Regions from separate parts of the Homo sapiens genome. Here all the other regions are linked to region 6. The links are contacts of gene promoters, found by promoter capture Hi-C in human tissues and cell types (Jung and others, 2019). All regions are on one chromosome and are shown on one strand. The core of a region is centred on a gene start or on the middle of the fragment in contact, and the rest is flanking DNA. Distances in the headings are between cores, read along the strand shown. Region 1 has its middle 120 kb from the start of MIR802. Region 2 has its middle 97 kb from the start of LINC01436. Region 3 has its middle 120 kb from the start of LINC01436. Region 4 has its middle 12 kb from the start of MIR802. Region 5 has its middle 29 kb from the start of MIR802. Region 6 holds the start of CLIC6 (chloride intracellular channel 6). Region 7 has its middle 110 kb from the start of MIR802.

Evidence for each region. The method cuts DNA at HindIII sites, captures the fragments that hold promoters and counts their contacts. A contact is called where the count stands out against the background at its distance.
Region 1: a contact is called between a fragment that was not itself captured here and the fragment with the promoter of CLIC6 in region 6, in 2 of the 25 tissues and cell types used here (H1 embryonic stem cells and lymphoblastoid cells).
Region 2: a contact is called between a fragment that was not itself captured here and the fragment with the promoter of CLIC6 in region 6, in 1 of the 25 tissues and cell types used here (dorsolateral prefrontal cortex).
Region 3: a contact is called between a fragment that was not itself captured here and the fragment with the promoter of CLIC6 in region 6, in 1 of the 25 tissues and cell types used here (dorsolateral prefrontal cortex).
Region 4: a contact is called between a fragment that was not itself captured here and the fragment with the promoter of CLIC6 in region 6, in 1 of the 25 tissues and cell types used here (spleen).
Region 5: a contact is called between a fragment that was not itself captured here and the fragment with the promoter of CLIC6 in region 6, in 1 of the 25 tissues and cell types used here (dorsolateral prefrontal cortex).
Region 7: a contact is called between a fragment that was not itself captured here and the fragment with the promoter of CLIC6 in region 6, in 1 of the 25 tissues and cell types used here (dorsolateral prefrontal cortex).

The regions. Positions count from the first base shown.
Region 1 is chr21:35,841,795-35,845,982 of GRCh38, reverse strand. No RefSeq gene overlaps it. Among named protein-coding and RNA genes, the nearest start is that of MIR802, 120 kb to the right of the region's middle. The HindIII fragment of the contact is 5,825 bases long and covers 1-4,188 here.
Region 2 is chr21:35,906,417-35,910,012 of GRCh38, reverse strand. No RefSeq gene overlaps it. Among named protein-coding and RNA genes, the nearest start is that of LINC01436, 97 kb to the left of the region's middle. The HindIII fragment of the contact is 5,202 bases long and covers 1-3,596 here.
Region 3 is chr21:35,880,073-35,884,199 of GRCh38, reverse strand. No RefSeq gene overlaps it. Among named protein-coding and RNA genes, the nearest start is that of LINC01436, 120 kb to the left of the region's middle. The HindIII fragment of the contact is 7,484 bases long and covers 1-4,127 here.
Region 4 is chr21:35,706,889-35,710,586 of GRCh38, reverse strand. No RefSeq gene overlaps it. Among named protein-coding and RNA genes, the nearest start is that of MIR802, 12 kb to the left of the region's middle. The HindIII fragment of the contact is 5,563 bases long and covers 1-3,698 here.
Region 5 is chr21:35,689,667-35,693,287 of GRCh38, reverse strand. No RefSeq gene overlaps it. Among named protein-coding and RNA genes, the nearest start is that of MIR802, 29 kb to the left of the region's middle. The HindIII fragment of the contact is 3,880 bases long and covers 342-3,621 here.
Region 6 is chr21:34,666,991-34,670,656 of GRCh38, reverse strand. It overlaps CLIC6 (chloride intracellular channel 6), which reads right to left and starts at 1,663. Exons shown (of 6, transcript NM_053277.3): 1 at 1-1,663. The coding sequence starts at 1,268. RefSeq lists silencers at 1-30, 931-1,370. The HindIII fragment of the contact is 4,429 bases long and covers 1-3,024 here.
Region 7 is chr21:35,826,149-35,830,081 of GRCh38, reverse strand. No RefSeq gene overlaps it. Among named protein-coding and RNA genes, the nearest start is that of MIR802, 110 kb to the right of the region's middle. The HindIII fragment of the contact is 5,199 bases long and covers 1-3,933 here.

The DNA.
Region 1 (4,188 bases), core at 645-3,144, 1.2 Mb before region 6:
GAGAAGGAGAAAAGGGAGAAAGGGGTTAACGTGTTCTAGGCAGAGAGAACAACATCTGTGAAGGCTTGAAGGAGTGAGACTATCACCCTTGCATTTGAGACACTGAAAAAATGTAGCCTGTCTGGCACTACATGGGGCTGGCGACACATATGAAAATGGGAAAGAAGGAGGAAAACTAGAGAGGGAAAAGGCGAGCAGACAGAAACAGGAGCCAGAGTAGAAACAAGGAGAGGAGGTTATGAGGTTTCGTGTGGGGAGACTGAGGGTGAGGTATCAATTAGGGGAATGTTAAATTGTTTTCATTTACAGACATAAAATTAGATACTTGAGCCAGGCAGTGGCACCATTGGTGGATGGAAAAGGTGCCAGGCTCAGCATCTGACCATCAGTGAGCCTCAGAGGGGACAGAGACTGCAAAGCCGATGCAAAGAATCTTCGATGACTCAAAAGGTGCAGCTCTCATGAAAAGCCAGTTAGGAAGGGGGCCTGGGTTGGAGTAGGGGGAGGTGGGGGAGAAGGGGAGAGAGGCAGTGGCCCTCAGTTGTGGGTTTCCTGAGTGTGAGGTGCTGATGGGACACACACACATAGTGGTGGATGGGCCTCATGCAGCACTGTTAGCAGGCGAGACTCCAACAGCTCTGAGCTCAAGGGGCCATCTTGGCTACCTGGACCATCCACAGGACTGAATGGGGGTGCAAGTTCTGTTCCCTCTCAGCTCCCCATCTGCAGGTGGTGACAGACAGGGTTGAGCGCTGACTGGCTCTCTCCATGCTGACCCTCTTGGTCCTGCATCCAGCTTAGGTCCTCTCCCCAGCATTTCCTCCCTTTTTGGCCTGTTCAGGGTCTGGGCGGGGCACTTGGACCCTCCTCTATTCTCTCAGGGCTAGAACTTTAGATCCCAGGGCAAGGCTTAGCCTCCTGAGTTACAAAATACCCAAGTCTTGTTAATCAAAAGCCTTGATTTTCAAGATGATCATCCCTGCTCTGTTACAATGTAAAGATCTATCTGGGAATTCCATGCTCTTTGTGCCCACATTCTGCTGGGCTGGTCTTTGAATGTCTAGTTTTAACGGGCGGGAAGCCATAGTTCATGTATCAAGTGGCTACCGCAGCACAGGTAGCAGCCGGGGAGATGGAAAGAGATAGAAATGAGGCCTGCTAGGGCGAGACAGAGGGAACAACAGAACTGTGGGTTGATCAGAGACTGAAATTCAGAAATGCCCTCAGCCCTCATGAAGTCCACAGCCATGGAGGCCAAATGCTTCATGTCATCCCCTCTCATTGTCCGAGGCTTCACTTAGGGTTTGGAGGTGGGAAAGAGGTGTCTCCCTGAGCTCAAAGGCTGTTTTTGGGGGCCTGAAACCATACAGGATGTACAATAGGAGTGCAGGTGGTTTGGGGCCAACATCCCAAGTGGAGCGCCAACATGCTCTCTGGTTCTGGGAAGATGTGGAGGAAACCCTTTGGCACCAAGCAAATAAACAAACACACACCCAAACAAAACAACATGAAAAGCCCCATGCTGAAAACTTTCCACTTGCCAACATGTTTTTGTCGCTGCCAAAGGTTTAGGATTGCAACATTTGGGCGTCTTTGGCCACAAACCCGAGGACTCTGCAGTTTTCCCAAAGCACCTAAAATAAAGAATTCTCTTTGGCAAAAACAGCATGTTTGTAAACAGAAAGCCTTTATTTTTGAGAAACTCAATTCCTCCTTAGGTGCAGAGTATTCAGAATAAAGTCCCAAGGCTATTTTTCATGTGCTTTTCCTACTCCAGATTGTCACAGGCAGGTAGAACCTATCTCTCGTTTGTGTGTGTGTGGTTTTCATTAACTGGGTGTGTGTTTGGAATGCGGGCTTGTCAGCCAATTGTGGATTTCCTTCTAATGCTGGAGAGAAAGGCTCAGATGAGGCCCTGGATTCTTCCAGACTTGGGTTTCTTCTGCCACAGGACCATGAAGCTGGGAGCTTCCCAGAGAGAGAGGCCGGCCTTCTTGATTCTCATCAGAAAACTCACCCCACTCACCTGAAAGTAGAGGCTTTACCAAGCAAAGATCTGAAGTTGGAGTAGCTTGTTTTCTAGTTGCTTCTTTTAGCAACCTCATTGCTAAAAACGAATTTTCTTTTCCTTCCCAGGAGTCCAGGTGTCACTATTTTCTTTCCCTTCTCACTGTCAAAACCTGTTTGCAGAGAAGGCTCATGACCTTCTTACTTTAGAGGGTTGTCCAAGATCACTAGCTACATTTTATACAGGATTCTCACAAGTATTGGTTTTAGTCAGAGTTCTCTAGAAGATGGATGGATCTATCTATCTATCTATCTATCTATCTATCTATCTATCTGATCTGTCTTTATCCATCCATTCATCTCTCTCTCTCTCTCTCTCTCCATCAATCTATCTTTTGGATCTTGAAGCTTAGAACGATCCTTAAAGACCTATAGGATACAGGAATATGGCCCCTCTCATATCACCATTTAATTAATTTGGTCCCGGGAGAAACCAGACAGATCCTGGAGGATGATAGACTCCTGCCAACTCAAACAAGTAGCAGCCCACAGCTGGCTGTGGTGCATCTATCCAGCCATCCATCCATCCATCCGTCTACATATCCATCCATCTATCAATTTATCTATCTATTCTATCTGTCTGCCTATCTGCCTATCTTATTTATCCTATCATTATCTATCTATCTAATATATATCAATTATCTATCTACCTATCTGTCCATAGAGAGATATAAGAGGGGATTTATTAGGGGAATTGGCTCACTTGATCATGGAGGTTACAGAGTCCCATGATAGGCCATCTGCAAGCTGGGGAACCAGGCAAGCCAGTGACATGGCTCAGTTCAAGTTCCTTGGTCTCAGAAGCAAGGAAGCCAATGTTGTAACTCTCAATTCCAGGATGAAGGCCTAAGAGACTGGGGGACACTGGTGCGAGTCCTAGAGTCCTAAGGCTGGGGAACCTGCAGTTGTGATGTCCATGGGTGGGAGAAGAAGGATGTCCTGGCTTTGGAAGAAAGCTCAAATTTGCCCTTCCTCTGCCTCCCGTTCTGTCAGAGTCCCCAGCTGATCAGATGGTGCCCACCACACCAAGGGGGTCTTCCCTCTCAGTCCGTGGACTCAAATGCCAGTCTCCTCTGGAAACACCTTACAGACACAGCTGGGGCAGCCCAGTTATTCTAGTCAAATGCCAAACCACGTGGGTTTCCTTTTCAGCAGAAGAGGGGTTGACACTCAAAGTCAACCATCACAGTATTCAAACTTCAAAATATCCTGGTCTAAAATCCTAAGACAAAAGATGGAATTTTGTATTTGTGATATTTCTGACATTGGCCACAGAAGGAAGTGTACACACACACACACACACACACACACACACACACACACACACACACACACACACATATTTATTAAGGTGAAATTCAAATAACATACAATTAACCATCTTAAAATGAACAAACTAGTGGCATTGGTTGCATTCACAATGTTGTATGGCCAACACTTCTGTCTAGTTTGAAACATTTCCATCACTCCAAAGTAAAGCCCCAGACCCATCAAGCAATTTCTCCCCATTCCCTCCTCCCCCTCAGCTTCTACAGGCACCAGTCTGTTTTCTGTCTTTGTGGATTTATGAATAGCTCATACAAATGGAACCATACAACGTGTAGCTTTTTGTATCCAACTTCTTTCACTTAGCGTCGTGTTTTCGAGGTTCATCCACATGTAAATCCTGCGGAAGAGCTTTTCTTCTGCTTAATGCTGATATATTAGCCCATCTTCATACTGCTATGAAGAAATACCCGAGACTGGGTAATTTATAAAGAGAAAGAGGTTTAATAGACTCAGTTTCACAGGGCTGGGGAGGCCTCACAAGCATGGTGGAAGACGAAGGAAGGGCAAAGGGACTTCTTACATGGTGGCAGGCAAGAGAGCGTGTGCAGGGGAACTGCCCTTTATAAAACCATCAGATCTCATAAGAACTGCCCTTTATAAAACTGTCAAATCTCGTGAGACTTTTTCACTACTGCAAGAACAGAGCAGGAAAATCCTGCCCCCATGATTCAATTTCTTCCTACCAAGTCCCTCCCTCCACACGTGGGTATTATGGGAGCTACAATTCAAGATGAGATTTGGGTGGGGACACAGCCAAACCATATCAGTTTGAGTAGGCGTTTTAAGAAACGC
Region 2 (3,596 bases), core at 598-3,097, 1.2 Mb before region 6:
AAAGCTGGGGCTCTCAGCCCAAAGTCAAAGTCCCAGCCAGGGAACCTGATTGGCCATGAGAGGTCATGTGACCAACCTTCTACCCAGGGCCCTGGCATTTCAGCTGCTGTAGTGATAGGCTTTCATGGTGGGTAGTATGTGTCAGAAGTCCCCAAATATGGAAATGAGGTTAAGATGCTGGACAGTTGAAACTGGCAAAATTGCTCAGTACCATGTCCAAAACTTTATGTAATCCTTCATGTAAATTGGTGCTGGTGCAATCTAGTTTCAGGGCCCAGACCCACACCCAGTTCCCAGGATTGTTTTTCCAACAACCTCTATTTGGTTAACACTGGGAGAGGAAACGCTTTACAATTTTCTTTTAAACCATATTCAAACTGAGGTTTAGAGTGAAAATTTTTTGTTGATGCATGTGCTATGATCAAAGCTCCCTTTTTTTTCCCACCAGATATATAACACAAGAGGTATCTCAAAAATGTATAACATGCATATTTTGGAGAAGTTTACTAGACTGAGCTATGTTTTTGGGTTTGTCCCAAAAACATATGTTTTTGGGTTTGTTCAGTAAATGAACAAAGAGACCATTTTTATTTCTATTGTGAAGCAGGTCTTTTGTTAGAACAAATAAGATCTTATTTCTTTGATTTTAGGTAGCAGTGTACTAAAACATTGGATGAGCCTGTGTCCTTGCTCTGAAAGACAAAACAAGAAAATCCTAGCATGGTTAACTTATGAGGGTCAAAATATCTGAGGACAAAAATGTTTACACTTAAAAATAGAAGTAGGCCCACTATGAGTGAATCTGTTAATTTTTCAGAGGAAATGAGAGGGGTGGTTAAGAGTTTATGCCCAGGATCCAGAGTGCTCGGGTTTCAATCTTTGTTCTGTCACCTATAAGATTTTGAGCAAGGAATTTAACTTCTGTGTCCCTTAATTATCTAGGATGCAAAATAGTAAACCCTCACTAGATTGTTGAGAATTTAAGTGAGTTAATATATGTAAGATTGGTGCAGTGCAGAAGGTCAGTGGTCAATAAATATTAGCAATTTCTATTTGTAATAATAATCTTTCCTCACAAATGAAGGAAATAATGTATATAGTGGTCCATTTCTAAGACAAAGTGACTTAAATTGGCTTAGGTCAGCAAACTACAGAAAAAAACAGGATATACTAGGCCCCTGCTTGGATAGCTGATGCCTGCTTGTTGGCACCCCACCCCCGTCCCTTAGTTGCCTTCACCTAATCCAAAAAAGTTTAGTCTAAGATGAAAGTTTACTAGCCTGCAAAATAGCTTGCTTTGTCTGTTCTTATGAGCTGCCCAGCTACTTAGGACATAAGTCAGATACTTAAAGAGCCCCTGAGCTGACTAGGATTGTAATGCATTGTGGGCTGCAACAAAATGCAGCAAGACAACCTTAAAGAAACCACCTAAAGCCCCAACCCAACAACCAATAGGCGACGTCTGGGAAGATTGTGACCCCATAGTTCTCAGCCTATGAGGAACTGGGGGAGGGACCTGCACACTAGGGGATAAACTGCTTGTTGTAACTGTGCTGGGTGTGCCTTCCCATCAGACACTCGATCTTGCAAGACTGTCATTAAAAGTCTCGCTTTTGCTGTTTTCCAGGTCTCTGAGTCCATTCTTTGGGTTTGGACAAGTGAGCCTCTGTCTCACAACAAATGAATGTCAGAAAGACAGCCAAGATAATTCCTAGCAGTACTGGGCACAGTGGCTCATGCCTGTAATCCTAACACTTTAGGAAGCCGAGGCAGGCAGATCACTTGTGGTCAGGAGTTCGAGACCAGCCTGGCCAACATGGTGAAAACCCATCTTCACTAAAAATACAAAAATTAACTGAGTGTGGTGGTGGGTGCCTGTAATCCCACCTACTTCGGAGGCTAAGGCACGAGAGTCACTTGAACCTGGGAGCTGCAGTGAGCTGAGATCATGCCACTGCACTCCAGCCTGGGTGACAGAGTAAGCCTCTGTCTCCAAAAAATTAGTGAAATAAAAATTCCTAGCAGGGCTTCTTTCGTGTTGAGAGAGATAATTATTAATTAATTTTACCCAACAGGTTAATGCACTTTGTTTCCTGCTCGACATTAGCCCCGAGTTTATTTTGGGGGCCCATCAGTACTCATCAAGTCAGAGGTTCTTGGGGACCACATAAAGCAGCATTGTAGTAGAGATTGGTGGGTATCTACATTTGCCTTCCAAAATCATGTAGTTTAAGATCTTCCCTTCCTGCATCTTCAGAGCATAGCCCTGGGCATTGCACAGGAGCTCATTACTGGGACCTGAGTAAATCCAAAGTGAGATCTGAGTGCATTCTGTATCTGCAGTTGATACTCCCACAGACAGAGAAAGTCAGGTTCTTAAATTCAGAACATTTAAAAAATTTAAAAGCTAACTATACATCTGTGTTTGAGAAATCCAAAGCACATGGATCTATTTTTATTTAGGAAAGGAGACAGCCAGCCTGCCTTTCTGTCACTTGTTAGTGCTTTTTTTTTTTTTTTTTTTTTTTTGAGATGGAGTCTCACTCTGTCCTCAGGCTGGAGTGCAGTGGTGCGATCTCAGCTAACTGCAACCTCCGCCTCCCAGGTTCAAGCAATTCTCATGTCTCAGCCTCCCAAGTAGCTGGGATTACAGGTGCCCACCACCATGCCCAGCTAATTTTTGTATTTTTAGTAGAGATGGGGTTTCACCATGTTGGCCAGGCTGGTCTTGAACTCCTGGCTTCAGGTAATCTGCCTGCCTTAGTCTCCCAAAGTGCTGGGATTATAGGCATGAGCCACTGCCTGGCCTCATTAGTGCTCTTAACCTTGACAGAAGACAGGTCAAGAGTTGCATGGGGGCAGTGAGTACTGATTTAAGATACACACATGTGAATCATTCTCTCTGTGGCTGTGTCTCAAGTCAGAGCATCAGACCCTTACCTCCTTCTGCTTTAGCCCTGGAAGAACTAGATTTCTGCTATTATGATGTGAAATGATGCCTTGAGCATCTATTATTTCATAGGCATAGGCAGAATGTTTGCCAACATGGTTCACTAGGCCAGGTCTTCTCAATTTGTGGCCACAGACCACTTGAGTTTCTAGTTAAAAATACCCATTTCAGTTGAAAAATACCCCTAAGATTCTCAGGATTCTAAGTGGCACCAACATATTTAGTAAAGAAGGGTAGGCTGTTATTCATAGTGTTAACCTTCAAAATATGATGACATAGCACAAATATCCCTAGCTTTCCTTTATAGCTGTTTTTGGATGCACCATCAATGGATTGATTTGAGCCCATTATTGAATGCTTTTAATATTCAGGCAATGAATTTCATTAGAGCCTCTACTGCTTCCTCTGCCTCCTCCTTCTTCTCATTGTCATTGCTGCTTCAAAGTTTTGAGAACATGCTACATGCCAAGATCCCTCTGAATGGCTCCGCAGCATCCTCCAGGTTCCTGGACTCCCCAGCTGAAGTAGCACAAGCCATTCATCCTTTTGGTTTAGGTATTAATCCAATGATGAGGTCATTCATTTGAAACTAACAAAAGCAAATCCAAAATGTTCTCTCCTTAAGGGAAAACCCAGCGTACAATTT
Region 3 (4,127 bases), core at 89-2,588, 1.2 Mb before region 6:
ATGGAATGTTTTTCCATTTGTTTGTGTCCTCTCTGATTTCCTTGAGCAGTGGTTTGTAGTTGTCTTTGAAGAGGTGGTTCACTTCCCTTGTTAGCTGTATTCTTAGGTATTTTATTCTATTCGTAGCAATTGTGAATAGGAGTTCATTCCTGATTTGGCTCTCTGTTTGCCTGTTGTTGATGTATAAGAATGCTAGTGATTTTTGCATATTGATTTTGTATCCTGAAACTTTGCTGAGGTTGCTTATCAGCTTAAGAAGCTTTTGGGCTGAGGTAATGGGGTTTTCTAGATATAAGATCATGTCATCTGCAAACAAAGATAATTTGACTTCTTCTTTTTCTATTTTAATACTTCTTATTTCTTTCTTTTGCCTGATTGCCCTGGCCAGAACTTGTCTTGTGCTGGTTTTCAAGAACTTCTTGATTTCTGCCTTACTTTGATTATTTACCCAGGAGTCATTCAGGAGCAGGTTGTTCAGTTTCCATGTAGTTATGTGGTTTTGAGTGAATTTCTTCATCTTGAGTTCTAATTTGATTGCACTGTGATCTGAGAGACTATTATGATTTTAGTTCTGTTTGCATTTGCTGAGGAGTGTTTTACTTCTGATTATGTGATCAATTTTAGAGTAAGTGCCATGTGGCAATGAGAAGAATGTATATTCTGTTGTTTTGGGTGGAGAGTTCTGTACATACCTGTCGGGTCTGCTTGACCCAGAGCTGAGTTCAGGTCCTGTACAGCACATCTTGGTTTGGATTAGCCACATTTTAAATGTTCAAAGGCCACAGTGGTTGGTGGCTGTTACATGGAACAATGCAGATCTACAGCTGTCTCTTCCTAATCAGTGGAGCTCTTTATTAAGAGGCACAAGCTGCCAACAAAGTAATGAATTTACTGTTGCTAGATTCATTCAAGCATCTAGTGCTGTGAAGTTCAAAAATTCGAGAGCCCTCCACCTGAACCTTGTTAAACTTTGTGGGCTTATCATTAATTCAGCACATCCGTGGACAGGGATGTGCTTATACAGCAAATATGCAGGAAACCATTGGCCATCAGATGACACAGACCTTTTGAAGCCACATGCCACTCACAGACCACCGAGCTTTGTGTTTGCACGTGCAGACTATTGTGCAAGCACTGGAACTCCATGTGCCGAAGGCACAGGCATCCAATGAAATATTTGAGTGGAATTTTCAACCAAAAGCAGCTGAAAGTTTTTCCAATTTAATCTGTAAACGCAGTCGGGGGATTTTTACACATGAATCAACTCGTTTACTTTGACAAGCCCTCTCTGTGCTCTGTCCGTGCCCAGTCTTCGGCTCACAAAGGTGCTCTGTGTGTAAATTTGCAGGGGGTAGGAGGAGGTGCATGGAAGTTCAAGGCAAACTTCTCTGAAAAATGCGGCATCTGGGAGCCAGGGTGGAAACGCAGGAAGGGTCCCCTGTGTGAATTTCCACCCTCCCTCACCAGAAGTGCTGTTCAAAGGGTTGAAGGTGGATTCACATTGGAATTCTATCTAATAAGATAGATGAGACTTACACTTCTGTATAAGTATTAATATAATTAATATAATTGGTGATTATATTTGAAGAATAGTTATAAGGATATTGATTTTTAAAGTCTGTGTCTCATCTTTTTCCCATTCATCTTATGCTTCATTTTGATACAGGAAAAAAAAGAGCTGTCAGAAGGATACCAGGTATCTTGTGCCTGGTCTGTGCTTGCAGGAATGTTGTGTTGTGGAGCCCATTTAAGTGGCATCTCCTTAAATGAAAGATGGGGAGTCACAATCCATAATAACAACGCCATCATAAGAACAGTGACCAACATTTATTCAACATTGATAATGTCCATGACCCTTGATATGGAACAACTCGTTTCATCCTCACAATCACCCTATGAGGTAGACACTGATACATGTCCCCATTTCACTATGGAAGAAGCTGGGACAGCGAGGTTAAATGCTTTGCCCAGGTCACCCAGCTGGTAAGGGGCAGAGATGGGGTTCAAACCCAGGTGAAGTCTTAGTTCTTTACCCAAAAGATCACAATCTGTCATGATTGGAAGCCTCCTTAAAAGTCCTCCCACCAACTTCCTACTAAGGTAAAAATCTCTTTGACCTTCCAGGCAGATGGTCATCCAGCCCATCTTGAATGCATCCAGTTGCTTGAATGCATTGAGCAACAGGGAGCACATTACTTTGTCAGCAGCCCATGCCTTTTAAGAAAAGCTCCAACAATTGGGAAATTCTTCTTTAGATGAAGCTATTTCCTACGATTAGTAAGATTTGATCCCCCTTCAATGCTCCTGGGGTACAGACTTCTTGAAACTGCTATAAGATAGAATTATACATGGTGGGACTTAAATCTCTGTATGCATGTGTTGTGTCGAATCCGTATCGACTCCAGTGGGTGTGGTACTAGATGCAAGAGGCTGAAGAAGAGACCCAGAGCCAGCAAATGAGACATGGGTTTTACTGGGGACTTACGTGCAGGGGAGAGAGTCCAGTGGTAGCAGGCTAGACAGGAGAACTGCATGGCCTAGTGGGGGCAGGCTGAGCATTATAACTGCAACTGCTTGCAAAAGGCATGCAGCTTACATCACATTTTCTTTTAGCACCCTCCGACAGTCTTCAACTGGCAACTTTCACTTACCCCAAAACAAAGGGCCTTGATTCCCAGTATGGCCTGTGTTCCATGGGCCAGGCTCGGAGCTCAGATGTTCCTCATAGAAAAGGAACAAATCTATGTGTTTGGCGCTGTCAGATTTCCTAGCTCAGAGCACACATTTAGATGTGTCTGCCATACAGGGTCAGTCTCAGGGAGTCTACGTTATTGCTCTCAGATATGTTTACCATACAGCATATTAATTGGAAGTTAGTTTTGAAGAACAGTGACAAGGATATACATCATTTAAATCTGCCTCTCACCTTTCTGTTTCACCACCTTATGCTCCATCCCATTGAACGATTTACTCTGGGTCCATGTTATGGGTCTCAGGAGGTCCCACATCCACACCTCTGCTCTTGCTGCTCTGAATATTCTCCAGCACCTGTTTATCAGCAAATGCTGCTGCTTCTTTGAGCCTCAGTGCTCCCTGCTATGAAGTCTGCTTTGCTAAGGGGAGAAGTTGCTGTTACCAATGAGAGCTAGGTGATTGTTCACTAGGGAGGATTCAAATCAAGAGGTGATGTTACATCAGCAACATGGTGGAATAGGAGGGTCCTGACTATCCCTTTTCTGACAGATGCACCTAATGAACACCTACATATGGATCAATACTCCCTGAGAGAAAGCAGAAACTAGGTGAAAGACTCCTGCATACTGAACAACTGAGAAAGATATTCACATTGAAGCAGGTAGAAAAAGCAGAGACAGAGTCTGGTGGAGAAGAGGGGGGAAGGAAAGATGTTGGTCAAAGGATGTACAATTTCCATTATTAATAGATAGGAGAAGAGGCCAAGGCAGGTGGATCATTTGAGATCAGGAGTTTGAGACCAGTCTGGCCAACATGGTGAAACCCCATCTCTACTAAAAATACAAAAATTAGCTGGGTGTGGTGGCGTGCACCTGTAGTCCCAGCTACTTGGGAGGCTGAGGCACAAGAATCGCTTGAACCTGGGAGGTGGAGGTTGCAGTGAGCTGAGATTGTGCCACTGCACTCCTGCCTGGGCAACAGAGTGAAACTCTGTCTCAAAAAAAAAAAAAAAAAAAGGAGAAGTAAGTTTTAGTGATGCATTGCACAGCATTGTGACTATAGCTAGTAATAATGTAGGGCACATTTCAAAATTGCAAAGAGTACATTTTAAAAGTTGTCATCACAAGAAATGATAAATAGGTGAAGTGATGGATATATTAATTAGGTTGATTTAATCATTCCACAATGTATACATATATTAAACATCACATTGTACTTCATGAATATATACATTGATTATCTGTTAATTAAAAAATTTAAAAAGCCATAAGCCCCAAACACAATTAAATCAGGTGTAATTCTTCAGCTTATTTCTTTTTCAAAATTGTTCTGGCTATAATAGGCCCTTTGCTTTCCATACTGATTTTAGAATTAGCTTGTAAATATCTACAAATATATTGCTGGCATTTTGTTTGAGATTGCATTGAATCTAT
Region 4 (3,698 bases), core at 69-2,568, 1.0 Mb before region 6:
AAACAAGGGGTTTAGGCTCACCTGTGCAGATGAGGTCTGATAAAGAGGTCTGATGCATTCCTAGTTCCTAAGAATGTGGAAGCAGGTTTACTCTTACATGTTCAAAATGATAAAGTAGATACTTCTAGTGATGTGGCATTTGGGAAGGGACAAGAAGTGAAGGTGCCTCTGCACACCCAGATGCTGACTCCATGCAAGAGTCAGTCTGTGCTCACAGGGTTGATGGACGGAGCTGTGATTGATGGGATTGGCTGGAGTTCTCCCTGACATGCTCTGGGACCAGCTACTTGTAGAAAAAGTACTAACGAAAGACTTGGAACCAACCCAAGTGTCCATCAATGATAGACTAGATAAAGAAAATGTGGCACATATCCACCATGGAATACCATGCAGCCATAAAAAAGGATGAGTTCATGTCCTTTGCAGGGACATGGATGAAACCGGAAACCCTCATTCTCAGCAAACTAACACAAAAACAGAAAACCAAACACCACATATTCTTATGCATAAGTGGAAATTGAACAATGAGAACCCATGGACACAGGGAGGGGAACATCACACACTGGGGTGTGTTGGGGGGTGGGGGGCTAGGGGAGGGATTGCATTAGGAGAAATTCCTAATGTAGGTGACGGGTTGATGGGTGCAGTGAACCACCATGGCACGTGTGTACCTGTAATAAACTGCACATTCTGCATATGTACCCCAGAACTTAAAGTATAATAAAAAATGAAAAGAAAAAGTGCTAACCTGGAACTCAGGAGGTTCAAAACTTCTTTCCCTGGGCTGTTTATTCAGTCACAAGAAAGTCTGAGAAAGTCACTGAACCTCTGTGTCTCACTTCATTTATCTGTAAAAAAAGGATAATAATGCTTATTTCACTTGTCTCTCAGGATAAATACAAACATCAAACTTTGAAGTGGTTTAAAGATGAGAAGGAAGAAAGAAAGGAAGAAGGAAATGAGGAAGAGAGAGGGTAGGGGAGAAACATGAGTAAGAAAGAAAGGAAGGGGAAAAGGGAAAGAAAGAAGGGAGAGAGGAAGGAAAATAGTTACTTGAAATTCACCTTGCTCTGTGTTGAGATTCTGAATTAAGTGAAAGTTGGGTGCTCTGGGGGAATAGAGGTTGTACCTCTCAAAATCTGTTTCTTGGATACTTAAGCTAGAAAAACTGAGTAGTACAGCCACTGAACTTATATCCTGTATGAAAAACTCCAGTTCCAATCTCTGGAAATTTAATTGCTTGATGTGTCTTAACTTTTGTTGTTGCTGTTGTTGGCTGCAGTCATCCTTAAACTATCAGAATTCTCTTTAAAACTGCAGAACTGTGCAATATACTTTAACCACTGGGCCCTAAACCGCAAAACCCATCACAAAGTCTGGCAAAGCAGATCAACATAAGAGGATGTCTTTGAAAGACTAAGATGAACATTAAATTAATCAACCAATGCTCTAGGGGGAAATGGCCAATAATTTCAAATTTTTCATCTCTGGGAAATCAATTATTATTATGTTTATTGATGTTGTATTTGTCACTATTTTCAGCCATTTCCCCTGATGACATGGGTTAAAATAAGAACATTGTTGTAAAAGAGATTAGACGTGTTCGATTCTGTTTCTAGACTTTCCACCTCTCAGCTACCTGGGATTTGGGAGAGAAATCGAGGCCGTGGGGCAGAGGCTGAGCTGGCTTTTTTCGTTGTTGTTCCTTTCTAGCATTGCTTTTGCCTCAATAAGATTTTTAACATTTAGCTAAACACCAGCTGATGTTTATCATTTGCTGGCCGGATTTCGGAGACATGTGTATATAAAAACACTCCCTTTCCAATCAGGTTGTTTGGGGGTTGGAATTTGTTTCCTCACTCCCCGGAAGATTCTGGGGACCCTCTCCCTCAGTGTATGGGGTGGAACTCCCCCTTGTCAGCTGCAGAGAAAGGGGCATTCTGCTGATGTGTTTAATCCCCAAAATGGAATGGCCCTGACTCACGGGAACCAGTTAACACCAGCCTGTGCACATTGTTCCAAAACCTAATTGCCTATTCCGTATGGAATTCCTCTTGTCCTTTTCGAAGCACTCAGTGATTTGGAGTCACCGTAGCAGTGATCAAGACAGGTTTGTCAGCACAATGACAATATGCAGATCATTCTCCCATTTGGTTGTGTATATATTTGCATTTGCAAATATGCAAAACTGTCATATATATGGTTTGTGTATAGCAATAGAGAAATGATTCTAGAATCACAGTACATGTTCCATCATATTCTATGAAGTTAGAGAAATTTGTAGCAAATCTCACTCACACACACACACACACACACACACACACACACACACACACGTCTCTTCTAATATGCCAGGCACTATATAAATTCTGAGACACATTCTGGGAAAATAAAAAAGCAAATTGACTATACCAACTCTGCCTTTAATGAACACAGTCTAGTGAGTACATTATATTATTAAATCTTAGGTTTATACATACACATATGTTAATGTACCTCAAATAAAAATATAGTGATAATTTCTAAATGAAGCTCTTAGATGACAAATGCGTTTATAAACCTTTATTGGCTTTAGATATTTAAAAATAATACCTGCGTATGCTGTAACATATTTTAAGAACACAGACGCTTACAAAACAATCACAAAATAAACACAGAAGCCCTCTTTTCCCCTTAATCTCACTCCTCAGGTGGCTACGGTTTATAACTGTTTGATGTGTGTTCTTCCTAAATGTTTGTTTGCCTATAAAACATAAAAACAAAGAATATATGTGGTAGATTTATTTGTATGCCATCATCTCATTCTTTTTTTTTTTTTGAAATGGAGTTTTGCTCTGTCACCCAGGCTGGAGTGCAGTGGCACGATCTCAGCTCACTGCAACCTCCACCTCCCAGGTTCAAAAGATCCTCCTGCCTCAGCCTCCCAAGTAGCTGGGACTACAGGCACCCGCCACCACACCAGGCTAATTTTTTGTATTTTTAGTAGAGACAGGGTTTCACCGGGTTAGCCAGAATGGTCTCAATCTGCCGACCTCGTGATCTGCCCACCTTGGTCTCCCAAAGTGCTGGGATTACAGGCATGAACTACTGTGCCCGGCTGCCATCATCTCGTTCTTTCAAATGACTTCCTATTATTCCATATGATGGACGACATGCTATTATCTCATGTCATGGATGTACTAGAATTTATTTAACAATTCCTTATTGGTGGGCACTTAGGTTACTGTCACTTTGTGTGTGTTTTGCACTACATTTTAAATGGATTCTGAATAAGGGAGAACTTGTTATAGCAGGAATACTAGCAATGTCAGTGATATATAAGCAATGTTCAGTACTTGACCATTGAAGCTTTTGATCGAGACACAATATGATCAAGGGTGTATATTAGAATAATGCAAGGTGGGAGCTGAATTGGAATGTGACTCTAAGCAGAGAAGACCAGTAGGCTACTTCTGCAGTCATCTAGATGTGAGATGCTGAAGATTTGAATAGGGGCTATGGTAGTCAGAAAGGAGATAAAAGATTCTGGAATTACCATTCATATTCCATTAACTGGGAGAAATTGGTAGTGAAGAAGAAGATACTAATTCCTAATTGCAACTAAATCAAAGCTACAGTCAGCTTTTGATTTTCTAATGGTGGGACACAGAAGAGAGCTGGGACATGCTTCTGGTTAGTGGACGAATGCTGATCATTCA
Region 5 (3,621 bases), core at 1,032-3,531, 1.0 Mb before region 6:
TGGCCAGATTTGGAGGGGACAGGGGACAGAGGGATCTATAGACACCTTTGGCTTACAGAGGTCATGGGTACAGGGTCAGACAGATGCCCAGACTCAGCCAGGGCAGGGACCCACTCCTGGACTACTCACTTTTGCCTTTGCTGAGCCAGGCCCTGCAGTAGGCCCAAGGGTCCTCAGGAGGGAACGATACCTGCTCCCACTTTGGTGGCTCACAGCCTGGATGGGCAGGCAGAGAATAAACCAAGCATGTCAGTGTGGAGTGGGTAAGCTGCAACCCAAAAATGACTGACATCCGGGGCAGAGGGGGGTCCCTAACTCACACTACTGTCAGGTCTTGAGAGAGGTGTGCCAGCTACTGACTGTCCTTACCAGCTGTGTATCGCTGGAGAAATCCCTTATCAAAGCCCCAGTCCTCTCTTTGGGAAAGAAAAATATTAATCTGTGCATCCTGCTGGCTGCATCTAAGGCACCTGGACCCAGTAGCCACGCCCTTGCCAGTGATGGGGATTTCCATAAGAGCTATCATCCGGCCATGTCCAGTGGATGGCTTCTCTGCATGAAGAGAAGGGAAAGTACCTGTTCCAAAGTGCTCTTCAGCATTTCTCCCTGTATTTCCAACATCTCTTTCCTGTTGGCTCCTTTCTAGCAAGTAGTTGCAGAGATTTCACAAAGGGAAGAAAGAAAAGTCCATCTTGTTCTCATGGTAGCTCCAACACTGTAGGTATGGGCTGTCCTCACTTTGCCTGGTGGTGTGAAACCATGAAAATGACTGTGCAAGCTGAAACCATGCAAAGCCATCTTAATAACAAAAGAAAAACTTACACAGAGGAAGGAAAGCTCTGGAGTTCCGGAAGTAAGTTTTGAGCTCTATTTATCTAAGGAATTACAGCACAAAAGCAAACCACTTGCATTTAATATGTCTCGCAGCTCCCTTATGTTTGCTTCTTATTAAAAAAGTCCTTTGTTTTGGTGCATGGATGAGAGAATCTGGGTCTTCGGCTCGTGTGGATGATTATTGGAGGAGTGTTCCATCTATTAGGATAATAGTTCCGTGGAATTCCTTTTAATATAATTGGATACTCCAGTTGGTGATTTTGCAACAGATGCACGTGGTAAAGAGGTCCTCTGCATTTGAATAGACTTTTCCATTAAGAAAGCATGCTTTTCTGGAGAGAGAGAGAGAGAGAGAGAGAGACTACAGCCCACACTGAGGCTTCTTAAGATCATAATGAATGAAAACTGATAAAAGAATGGTAAAAAAAAAAAAGGAAGATGACCACAGAGGCAGAAAGCAGTCTTAAAAAACGAAAGAAAGAAAGAAAGAAAGAAAATAATGCAGGCAGGAACAAGAGCAAGTGAAAAGGAAATGACATCGTGATTTGCAGAGGACATTGTGAAAAAGCCACCCCATAACTCCTCTGTGAACTCGTTTTAAAGAATAATTCTTGTTGGGAGATGGTACAAAGATTTCTGGGATTAGTGGCACTGATTTTTTCCCCCAGGACTTCAATGGTTTTACATTTTTGGCATGTGGTTCCTCATCTGTTGGTTGTAAATGTTACTGAAATACAAGGGGTTTGGTCTAGGTCCTGCTGCTCACTGCACAGAAAGCCAATCACAGAGATGACAAGTATTGCCAAGAAAGAAAGCTTTAATCAGGTGCTGCAGCTGAGGAGATGGGAGCTCAGTCTCAAATTCATCTCCCTGAGGGACTAAAGCTAGGGATTTATGTAGCATAGAAGAAATGAAAGAAACCAAACAATGTGTAAGAAAATAGAAACTAGGGAGGGGCAAGGAAGCAATCATGATGAATGAGGGCCCCCACATCTCATTGTCTGGATGTGGTGATCTGCTGAGTTTCAGTTCTTTGATACTTTTTTTTTTTTTTTTTTTGGAGGCAGAGTCTCGCTTTGTTACCCAGACAAATACAATGTTGCGATCTCAGCTCACAGCAACCTCTGCCTCCCAGGCTCAAGGCATTCTCATGCCTCAGCCTCCAGAGTAGTTGGGATTACAGGCATGCGCCACCACGCCTGGCTAATTTTTATATTTTCAGTAGAGACAGGGTTTCGCCATGTTGGCCAGGCTGGTCTTGAACTCCTGGCCTCAAGTGATCCATCTGCTTTGGCCTCTGAAAGTGCTGAGGTTACAGGCATGAGCCACCGTGCCTGGCCCTTTGATACTTCTTTGAGAGGCCTGAAGGTCATTTTCTGAAGAAGGAACTCAGATAAAACAAATGTAAGTTTCCAGCTTTAAGACCAGAACGATCAATTTCTGTGTTTATCCCAAAAATTATCTATAGAACTGTTGATTAGGTTTCATACGAAGGGATGGAAATGCAGCCATGAACTTTTGGGAAGTTGTTGCCTCCCTTAGTTCTGAAGGGGTGGGGGAGGAAGGGTGTACCTTGGGGAGAGGAGTCTTGATGGGGGTTGTGGCAGCAAGCAGAGGACAACAGTCATTGCAAAACCCTTCAGCCTCCTACTGGATCTCCCATAGAACACAGGCTGAGAAGCTGGGTTTCAGTCATATTTCACTGTAAGTTAAAATAGTGTCTTGGGTCAGGCCCAAAGAGGCAGTGATGTGGTTGTTAAAGTCATACGCAACTAAAAACTGCTTTCTTGGTTTGCAAATAAACCAGTGAGCAAATATCTCAGCTGTTCTTTCTGGAAGCCCTTCACATTTTCCCTTTGCATCAAGATAGCCAAGTTGAGTTAGCACAAGCCATGGAAATCCTTCGGCTGCATCTGTGTTCTGGGGCTGCTTGTTTCTCACTATCATTTAGTGCAGGCCCTTCACAAACAGAGAAAAACATATTGATCCCTTCCTTCAAAGCCATACATTTTAATACAGTTTAACATACCGAGTTGTCAGGGTTTGATCTCTGGGGTCACAGTTCAAACTCCTTCTAATTCTATTGCCTATATTTCTAAATTTCTTGGGCAGTTTCAAGCACAAGCCAATCAGTGTCAATAAAAAAAAAAAAAAAAAAGGAAAAAGACAGGGTCATACTCTGTGCAGGCTCTGATGGCTTTTTGGATGGTTTCCTTTGGTGGTAGGAAGGTGGTTATTTTTGTTGTTTAATTAGGCATTTCTTTTCCTTACTCCTGTATCAGAGAACACAAGTGAATACAAACTGTATCAGAGGACATAAGTGAGTTCTGAGCCCTTATAGCTTTTGAAGTAAAGAGAAACCTCCTTGCCCCAAAGGAAACTGAATCCATGTGGTGGATGGATGTGATCGTTAATTTTATGCGTCAGCTGGCTAGAGGACAGTTGTTTGGTCAAACACTACTCCAGATGTTGCTGTGAAGGTATATTTTAGATATAATTAACATTTACATCAATTGACTTTAGGTAAAGCACATTTCCTTCTATAACATGTCTTTGTTCATAAGAACAAAGACCAAGATTCCCTGAATGGAGACAGAATTTCTTCTTCGACTGCAACGTTGAAATTCTGCCTGAGTTTCTAGCATTTGAACTCAAGACTGCAAAATCGACTCTTACCTCAGCCTGTTGGCTTGCCTTATAGATTTTAGATTTGCCAGCCCCCACAATTGCGTAAGCCAATTTCTTAAACTATGCTGTTAGTTTTTCTTTCTCTGGGGGAACTCTGGG
Region 6 (3,666 bases), core at 414-2,913:
GCGGGGCCCTCCTCGGCCAGGTGGTTGCTGAGCTGGGCCTCAGGCTCCGCGGCGCCCCTGGAGGCCTCCCCATGTGGGCTGCTGTCGGGGGATTCCTCTTCGCCCCCCGCTGCTTCCTCCTCCCTTGGCCCCTCCGGGCTCCGCTCTCGTCTCTCTTCGTCCTCCCCCGGCTCCTGCTGTGGCCCATCCCCTACCCTGTCCTCGCCAGCGTCTGCCCTTGCGTCCCCGGGGGCCGCTTCTTCGGACCCCTTTACCCCCGGGACCTCCGCCTCCTCCGCTGCGTCCCAGGCGAGCTCACCGGGGCTGCGCCCCGCACTCTCCCCGGCTGCGACCTCAATTGCCTCGGCCTGGGGCGAGAGGCTGCCGTCCCCCGATTGCTGCGGCTCACCCGAGACCCGGCGCGCCCTTCCTGCCGGACCCTCGGCGTCCATGCTGTCCCCCGCCGGGCCTTCGGCTTCTACGCTGTCCCCCGCCGGGACCCCCGCTTCTACGCCGTCCCCCGCCGGGTCCCCCGCCTCTACGCTGTCCCCCACCCGGCCCTCCGCGTCTACGCTGTCCCCCGCCGGACCTTCCGCGTCTACGCTGTCCCCCACCCGGCCCTCCGCGTCTACGCTGTCCCCCGCCGGGCCCTCGGCTTGTATGTTGTCCCCCAGCGGGCCCTCCGCGTCTACGCTGTCCCCCGCCGGACCTTCCGCGTCTACGCTGTCCCCCACCCGGCCCTCCGCCTCTACGCTGTCGCCCGCCGGGCCCTCCGCTTCTATGTTGTCCCCCAGCGGGCCCTCCGCGTCTACGCTGTCCCCCGCCTCCCCGGACGCGCTACCTTCCGGGACCTCAGGCCTCTGCTCCGCCTCCTCCTGCCTCTCGGGGGCCGCAGAGTCCTCGGGCTCCCTCTGAGCCTCCCCGCGGGGCTCGCCCTGCGCGCCGCGTCCCGGGCTCGCCCCCTCCACCTGCTGCGCGCCGCTTGTCTCCTCCCCTCCTTGGGGCACCTCGGCACCCTCCGGGGCTCCCTCCTCGGCCTCAGTCTCGCCGTGCGCCCCCCTCGTGCCCCGCGCCTCGGCCTCCGGGCCCCTGTCTGGCCCGCCGCCTCCTGCCTCCTTCACAGCGGCGGCGCCCCTCGGCGCCTCCTCTGCGCCCTCGCTCCCCTCCGGCCCTTCTGCCTCCCCGCCCGCGGCTCCTGGCTCTCCGGGTCTCTCAGCCAGAGGCGCGGGGACCTCCGGCGGCCCCTGGGGACCCGGGGCAACCCCCTCCGGCTCCGCGGCCTCGGCCATGGCCGCAGATCCCTGTCCTTGATCGGGACTCCTTCCTTGACGCTGCTTAAGGGTCGGTGGCGCTGGGCAAGGGGCGTGCTACGGGGCCCTCTGTGCTCCTTGAAGGACGCCGGCTCCGGGATCCTGCGGCAAAGGTTTAGCCGGGGCACTGGGGCCTTGCGCAGGACCCGCAGGGCAAACTCCGCTTGGCCCCAAGCCTCTGCGCCCCTTCTGCCCAGCTGAAACTCCCTGGACTCTTCCTCCACTGCTGGAGCTTCTCCCCGATTGCGCGTCTGCTTCCCACCGGGACCCCAATCTCGCCCGCGGGCCGCGGAGGTGCAGTGCACGGCTGGAGAGGGCTGCTTCGCTCCTGCGCCTTTGGAAGTGCCCGGCCCGCTGTCCGCTGTCCTGGGGTTGACCAGAAGTCCTTGGTGCCAACTCCATCCCCTGGGGCTTGGGCGGGGTTTGTCTTCCCCTCCTCCCTCCTTTGTTTGGGTAGCCTAGGAGCTTGGCCAATGACAGCCTTTCTCGTGACCCTTGTGGATGTTGATGAAAAGATTCTGGTTCTCCTGGCCGCTTGGGTGTTGTTCTCTAGAATGGCTTCAAGTTCCAGAGTCACTTAAATCACCCCCTCCAAACACACACCCCGACACCCAAACACCTAATCCCCACCTTACCCCAGGAGTGAAGCATCAAGCTCCCCCGGTACCCAACTGAAGATGTCCACATTGTGCCTGATGTCCAAGAGCAAGGGTGTAAATCCCTGAGAGAAGAAGCTGGGGAGGCTACGCTGGCCGCCTTCCCATGTCTGCAGGGCCCCCGGAGAGGTTCCAGAGGCCCCTCATATAGACGCACAAGGAGCCAGTCGAGTTTCTCTGACCAGAGATGGGCGCTGTTGTCCATGAGGGTCCGCTTCTCCGGGCCTGTCTGGAGGATCGTGGGAGCCCTGCGCTGGAAAAAGGTTACACCTTCATCTCCCGGGTCTCTTAAGACTGTAAGAGTCTGTGTATCTTGCTGATTCTCCTAGATTTCTAAACTCACCACCAGTGCTTCTGCCTCCAAGTTAAGAGCTTGGGAATCTGGAGGTGGAGAAAAGAAAATCCAAGATGTGAAAGAGGGGAGCTATGGAATTCCCTGGGTTAGGGTTCTCCCAGGATCACAGACCCAATACCTACTTTAAAAAGGAAGTTATTATGGTGAAAAGTATGTCGTAAGTTTATTATAAGCCAGGCTACTTCTAGTGGGTTACCAAGAAACTGGGTTACCCAAGGTGGCACTATGTAAATGTGGTGGAACGGGGATCCCAGCTCAAGACTGACTTGATTCATCAGGCTTTATATGGCTTTGATATTGGCCTAAGATACATGAGCCCCTCATGCCCACAGAAGGTTGTTTTCGTTGAAAGAGCTGGGTGTGCCTTTGATGTGGCTTGGGGTCACACCTTTGGCCATGAACATAATGTGTCTCCTTCTACTTCCCATTGCTCATCACTGATGGATGACAGGACAGGAGCCCAGAGACACTCAGCTTCATGCTACCTTTCTCCAAGGCTGTGCTCTGTCTGGGTAGGTACAGGCCAGAAGCTTCATCACCACAAAGTGGCATCTAGTCAAAGCATGACACTCACACAGGTGAGCCAGAGATGCACGTGAGCCGTAAAAGCTCTAGGCACCTAGAAAAGGAATCCTGCTGCATTCACCGGGGCAAGGTAGCAGCCATCACCCTTATCTTGTAAAGAAAGATGAAGCCAGCACGTTCAGCCCGGAACAGCAAACACAGTACAGGTTTACAGTGCTTTATGCAAATCCCATGAGCCCGGATGTGTTTCAGAAAACAGAATTGTTAGAAAGATGATTGAGTGATTTTACTGTATATTACATAACACAGAACATCACTTTGTGATCAAACACATTAATATTTCTGCAGTAAGACAGGCATCACATTTGGTGAGATATGGTAAAATCATACAAGCTTCAGGCCCCCCACCCCCAGTTTAGGTTCACCTCCAGCTGAGTTCAAGCCTTTCTGGTTCTGATTCTAGATGAGTTCCCAAAACAGCTTTCAGTATTCAGAGCCTTTTAGGATTTCAGAATGTGTATAAAAGGATTGTGGACCTGTGAACCATTGAAGGGCTCTGGGTTTATTTGCGCTGCTTAGAAAAATGTGAGATTAGTTAGATACATAACTTTGTCCTTAATAACAAACCGTCTTCAATGCTCAATGTTTACAAAGAACCAAATTAAAGACACTCATGCGAGTAATAATATTTAGCAAATTCTTTTAGCAAAGTCAGTAGATAAGAATTTCTGTCAATAGAGTGTCTTGTGACATTAGCTTACCCCCCAAAGTATAAAACTAACTGAGGAAAGTATTTTCCAAAACTAGTTCAGGTTGGTGCATATGTATTTGAAGGCACGTG
Region 7 (3,933 bases), core at 761-3,260, 1.2 Mb before region 6:
TCGAGATCAGCCTGGCCAACATGGTGAAACCTCGTCTCTACTAAAAATACAAAAATTAGCTGGGTGTGGTGGTGCACACCTGTAATCCCAGCTACTCGGGAGGCTGAGGCAGGAGAATTGCTCGAACCCGGGTGGTTGTGAGCCGAGATCGTGCCACTGCCCTCCAGCCTGGGTGACATAGTGAGACTCCGTCTCAAAAAGCAAAAAAAAGGAAGGCAAAGATTTTGCTTAACCCGGTGGTTAAAATTGTCAGTGGAACAGTAAGCAGCATGCTAATGAATAAGGCTATAAATTGTCCTTTCTGCTGTTGATGTTAGTTCTAGTTAGTCTTTTGATGTTAATACCTCTTTACAACATTACTGTAAGATTATTTCTTTTCTTTTAATCTAAATGGTTTTTAGTCGTTGGTTGTCTTGTCTGTAGAGAGATCTGTGGGCTTTCCTTCTTCCCTTTTCAAAGTGATACCAGCTACACACGTGTTTTTATTTGCTGTCTAAAGGGTAACAACCCTTTTATCTTTAAACTGGGTCTTCCTTTCCCCAGGTTTGGCGCTGCACCTCTGTCTCTGGGAAGCAATTATCCCCCGTCTCCCAGGTGCCTTAAACTCAGCATCAGTCATTTTTCCTTGATTGTTCACATCTATTCTCCGTTTTAAATGTGGGCACAAAAGCCCTGGAGTCACTTAAGCTTGAAACCTGAGAGACTTTCTCAGTCCACCCTGCCCCCACACCTCTATCCTCTACGTCTAAGTGGTCACCGATCTTGTTACTGATTTTTCATGGTCACCCTCTCACTGGTCCTGGCACGTGGCCCAGCTTTATGCCTCCTTCCCCTTTTCTTGCCTTCCTCGACAGCTTCCATGTTCTAACCTGTGGCTTTGCTCACCTGTTTGCATCCTGCTGGACTGTGCTTCCCTCCCCCACTGTTTTCCCTTTAACCAGTGAACTTTAAGACTTTAAGACTCACATCAGGCCTCACCTTTTATTTGAAAGGAATCAGGAATTACTTAATTGTTTTCAGAATCTGATTTGCTCTTGCATTTTCCATCTTCCTAGATTACACCCCTCTCTCTCCACCTGTCCCAGTTGGAAAGTCTTGAATCATTTCCCCTCATTCCAGATGGTGTCAGTTACCAGATATTGACATACTACTGAATTTTGGTTATTCTTTTTTGTTTCCATCATTACCTTCCAGGTGTAAGCCCACCTGCTTTTTGTGTAAGCCAGTGCATTTATCTCTTAGAGAATCTTTCCTCCTCTTTCTCCAGCTTCCATGTTGTCTTTAGGGTTACCCTCAGATTCATCTGTCTAAAGTGCTTTGTTCAAAACCTTCTCCGGACCCGTGTCCTGCAGAGAAATGTTCACTTTAGCATGGCATTTGGAGCTATTTACAATCTGATCTTAATTTATCACCTTAGCAACAGGTGCTCTCAGTCCCCAGACACCCTGCCTCAGAGCTGTGCCATCCAGTCTCACGCCTTTAGTCTATGGCCATATTGTTCTTGACTGAGGTCTTCTTCCCTGGTTGTTGAAATCTTACCTACCTTTTATGAGCTAATTTAAATGGAACTACCGGCCAGGCATGGTGGCTCATGCCTGTAATCCCAACACTTCGGGAGGCTGGAGATGGAGTCTAATACAAGAAACTGTCCCATATGCTCTTCAGAATCCTGAAGTTTACCTTGGTTCCCTTTAAAGTCTTTTTTTATGATTGATGAGTCATTTCAGCATTGTGCTGAATTCAAAGGCCCTCAATAAAAGATACAATCAAATATGGATGGGTCACCTGAGCCCAGGAGTTGGAGACCAGCCTGGGCAGCATGGCAAAACCCCAACTCTGCTAAAATACAAAAACTAACCAGGTGTGGTGGTGGGCGCCTGTAATCTCAGCTACTTGGGAGGCTGAGATGACAGAATCGTTTGAGCCCTGGAGGTCGAGGCTGCAGTGAGCCATGATAGCACCGCTGCACTCCAGCCTGGTGTTTAAAAAAAAAAAAAATTAAAACTACCATGTATAGAGCCTCCAGATTCCCCTAGTGAGAACAGAGTGCATTTTCCTTTGCAGCCTCCATCTCTTGCTACAGAATAAATACTTCTATTTTGCTATGTATCACAGTCTGGCCAGCATTATGGATATTTAGTTATCTATTTTCTTCTGGATGCCTTAGAGATGTGTTTTACTGCTGTTTGTGTGCCTCACTACTGAGTCCATTGTAAGCCATGGGAGATCCTGTATTTTAAATTGATATTTTGAAAAGAGAGTTCTTTATGTTTGGTTGGTGTTCCTTTTTTAAACTTCACTATCATCATTTCTAAAATCTCTATTAACATTATCAACACACACTGATTATCTTTTGCCTTTTTACAAATGTAATACAGCAAAACACTCAATACTTTGAAAACATTTTGAATTCATGTAAGTATGACTGAAAAATGTTTCCGAAATGTTGATTTGAAAACAATTGCTTGATGGATTTCAACTTTATGTTTCAAACTAGGGCCTATGTAGACTAAGCTGGAATTAAGCACCACACAGTTTCTCTGGATTTGGCCAAGCATGGCTCCCACCCAAGGGAGTTCACCTTGTTTTTCATTTACAGTGACCTCTGATGCTCAGGGAATGGATCAGTAGAAAAGAATAGCCTAAAACATATCTTGCTACAGAATAAATGAATGTCAGATGAAATGCACACACACATATGTGTGTATATTATATTTATATATATACACATATATATGAATCTGAACATGCGGACAGCAGATGATTTTTAGATGTGACTAACATACTCATTATGTCTTTAGAGCAAAATCCTCCACCAGGCTTATTGTCCTGAAGTTGAAATACAATAAGTTCACTGTCCAGTATGCTCCTCAGAATCCTGAAGTTTAGCTTGGATCCCTTTGAAGTCTTTTATTATGATTGATGAATCATTTCAGCATTGTGCTAAATTCAAAGGCCCTTAATAAAAGATAAAATCAAATGACTTACCAATCAAGAATACCACAAAAGACTGGAAATCAGGTGAAAATGTGGCATGAGCAGTAATACTAAACTTAAAGGCCTGTATCAATCACTATACATTTCCAAAAAGTTTGGAAACATTTAAAACTTTGAAAAGGTGCACATGACTGATTGCAGAAACTATCTGGGAAATATTTGAGTGCTGTTTGTGATAGAAATAAATTCCCGTTTGATACCCTTCTCCAGTAAATGTTTTATAATAGAGTTTGGCATCACAGAGCATGGGTGGAGAAAGATCTGTACCTTCCTGTTTGACAGCAGAGAGTCCCAGGAGGTGGCTGGGCTTTGGTCCCTGTGTCTGCGTCAGCCCCTGATGGGACAAAACTTGCTTTTTTTTTCTTCTATGAGACGGAGTTTCGCTCCTGTTCCCAGGCTGGAGTGCAGTGGCATGATCTTGGCTTACTGCAACCTCCACCTCCAGGTTCAAGCAATTCTCTTGCCTCAGCCTCCTGAGTAGCTGGGATTACAGGCGCCTGCCACCATGCCTGTCTAATTTTTTGTATTTTCAGTAGAGACAGGGTTTCACCATATTGGCCAGGCTGGTCTTGAACTCCTGGCCTCAGGTGATCTGCCCACCTCGGCCTTCCGAAGTGCTGGGATTACAGGCGTGAGCCACCACACCGGGTCAGCTTGCCCTTTTTTAGAGAGGCTGGTATTATGTTTAGATGGAAAGGGTAATTTTGACTTAGATTAAGAAGACTTAGATTATTACCCACAGGCTAAGATTTTGGTGTTCTTGGCAAGGACTGTTGAGGATATGACTTACCCTGTATTCCACTCTCAATACTGCAAGATGGCTGGGCACAAGACTGAAATGCTAACACCTCCGGGAGGGGGATTAATAAATTCCCGATGAAACCTACAACAGAAGAACTACCTTGTCCTCTATTTGTGAGAAAAGAGGAAGTCAGT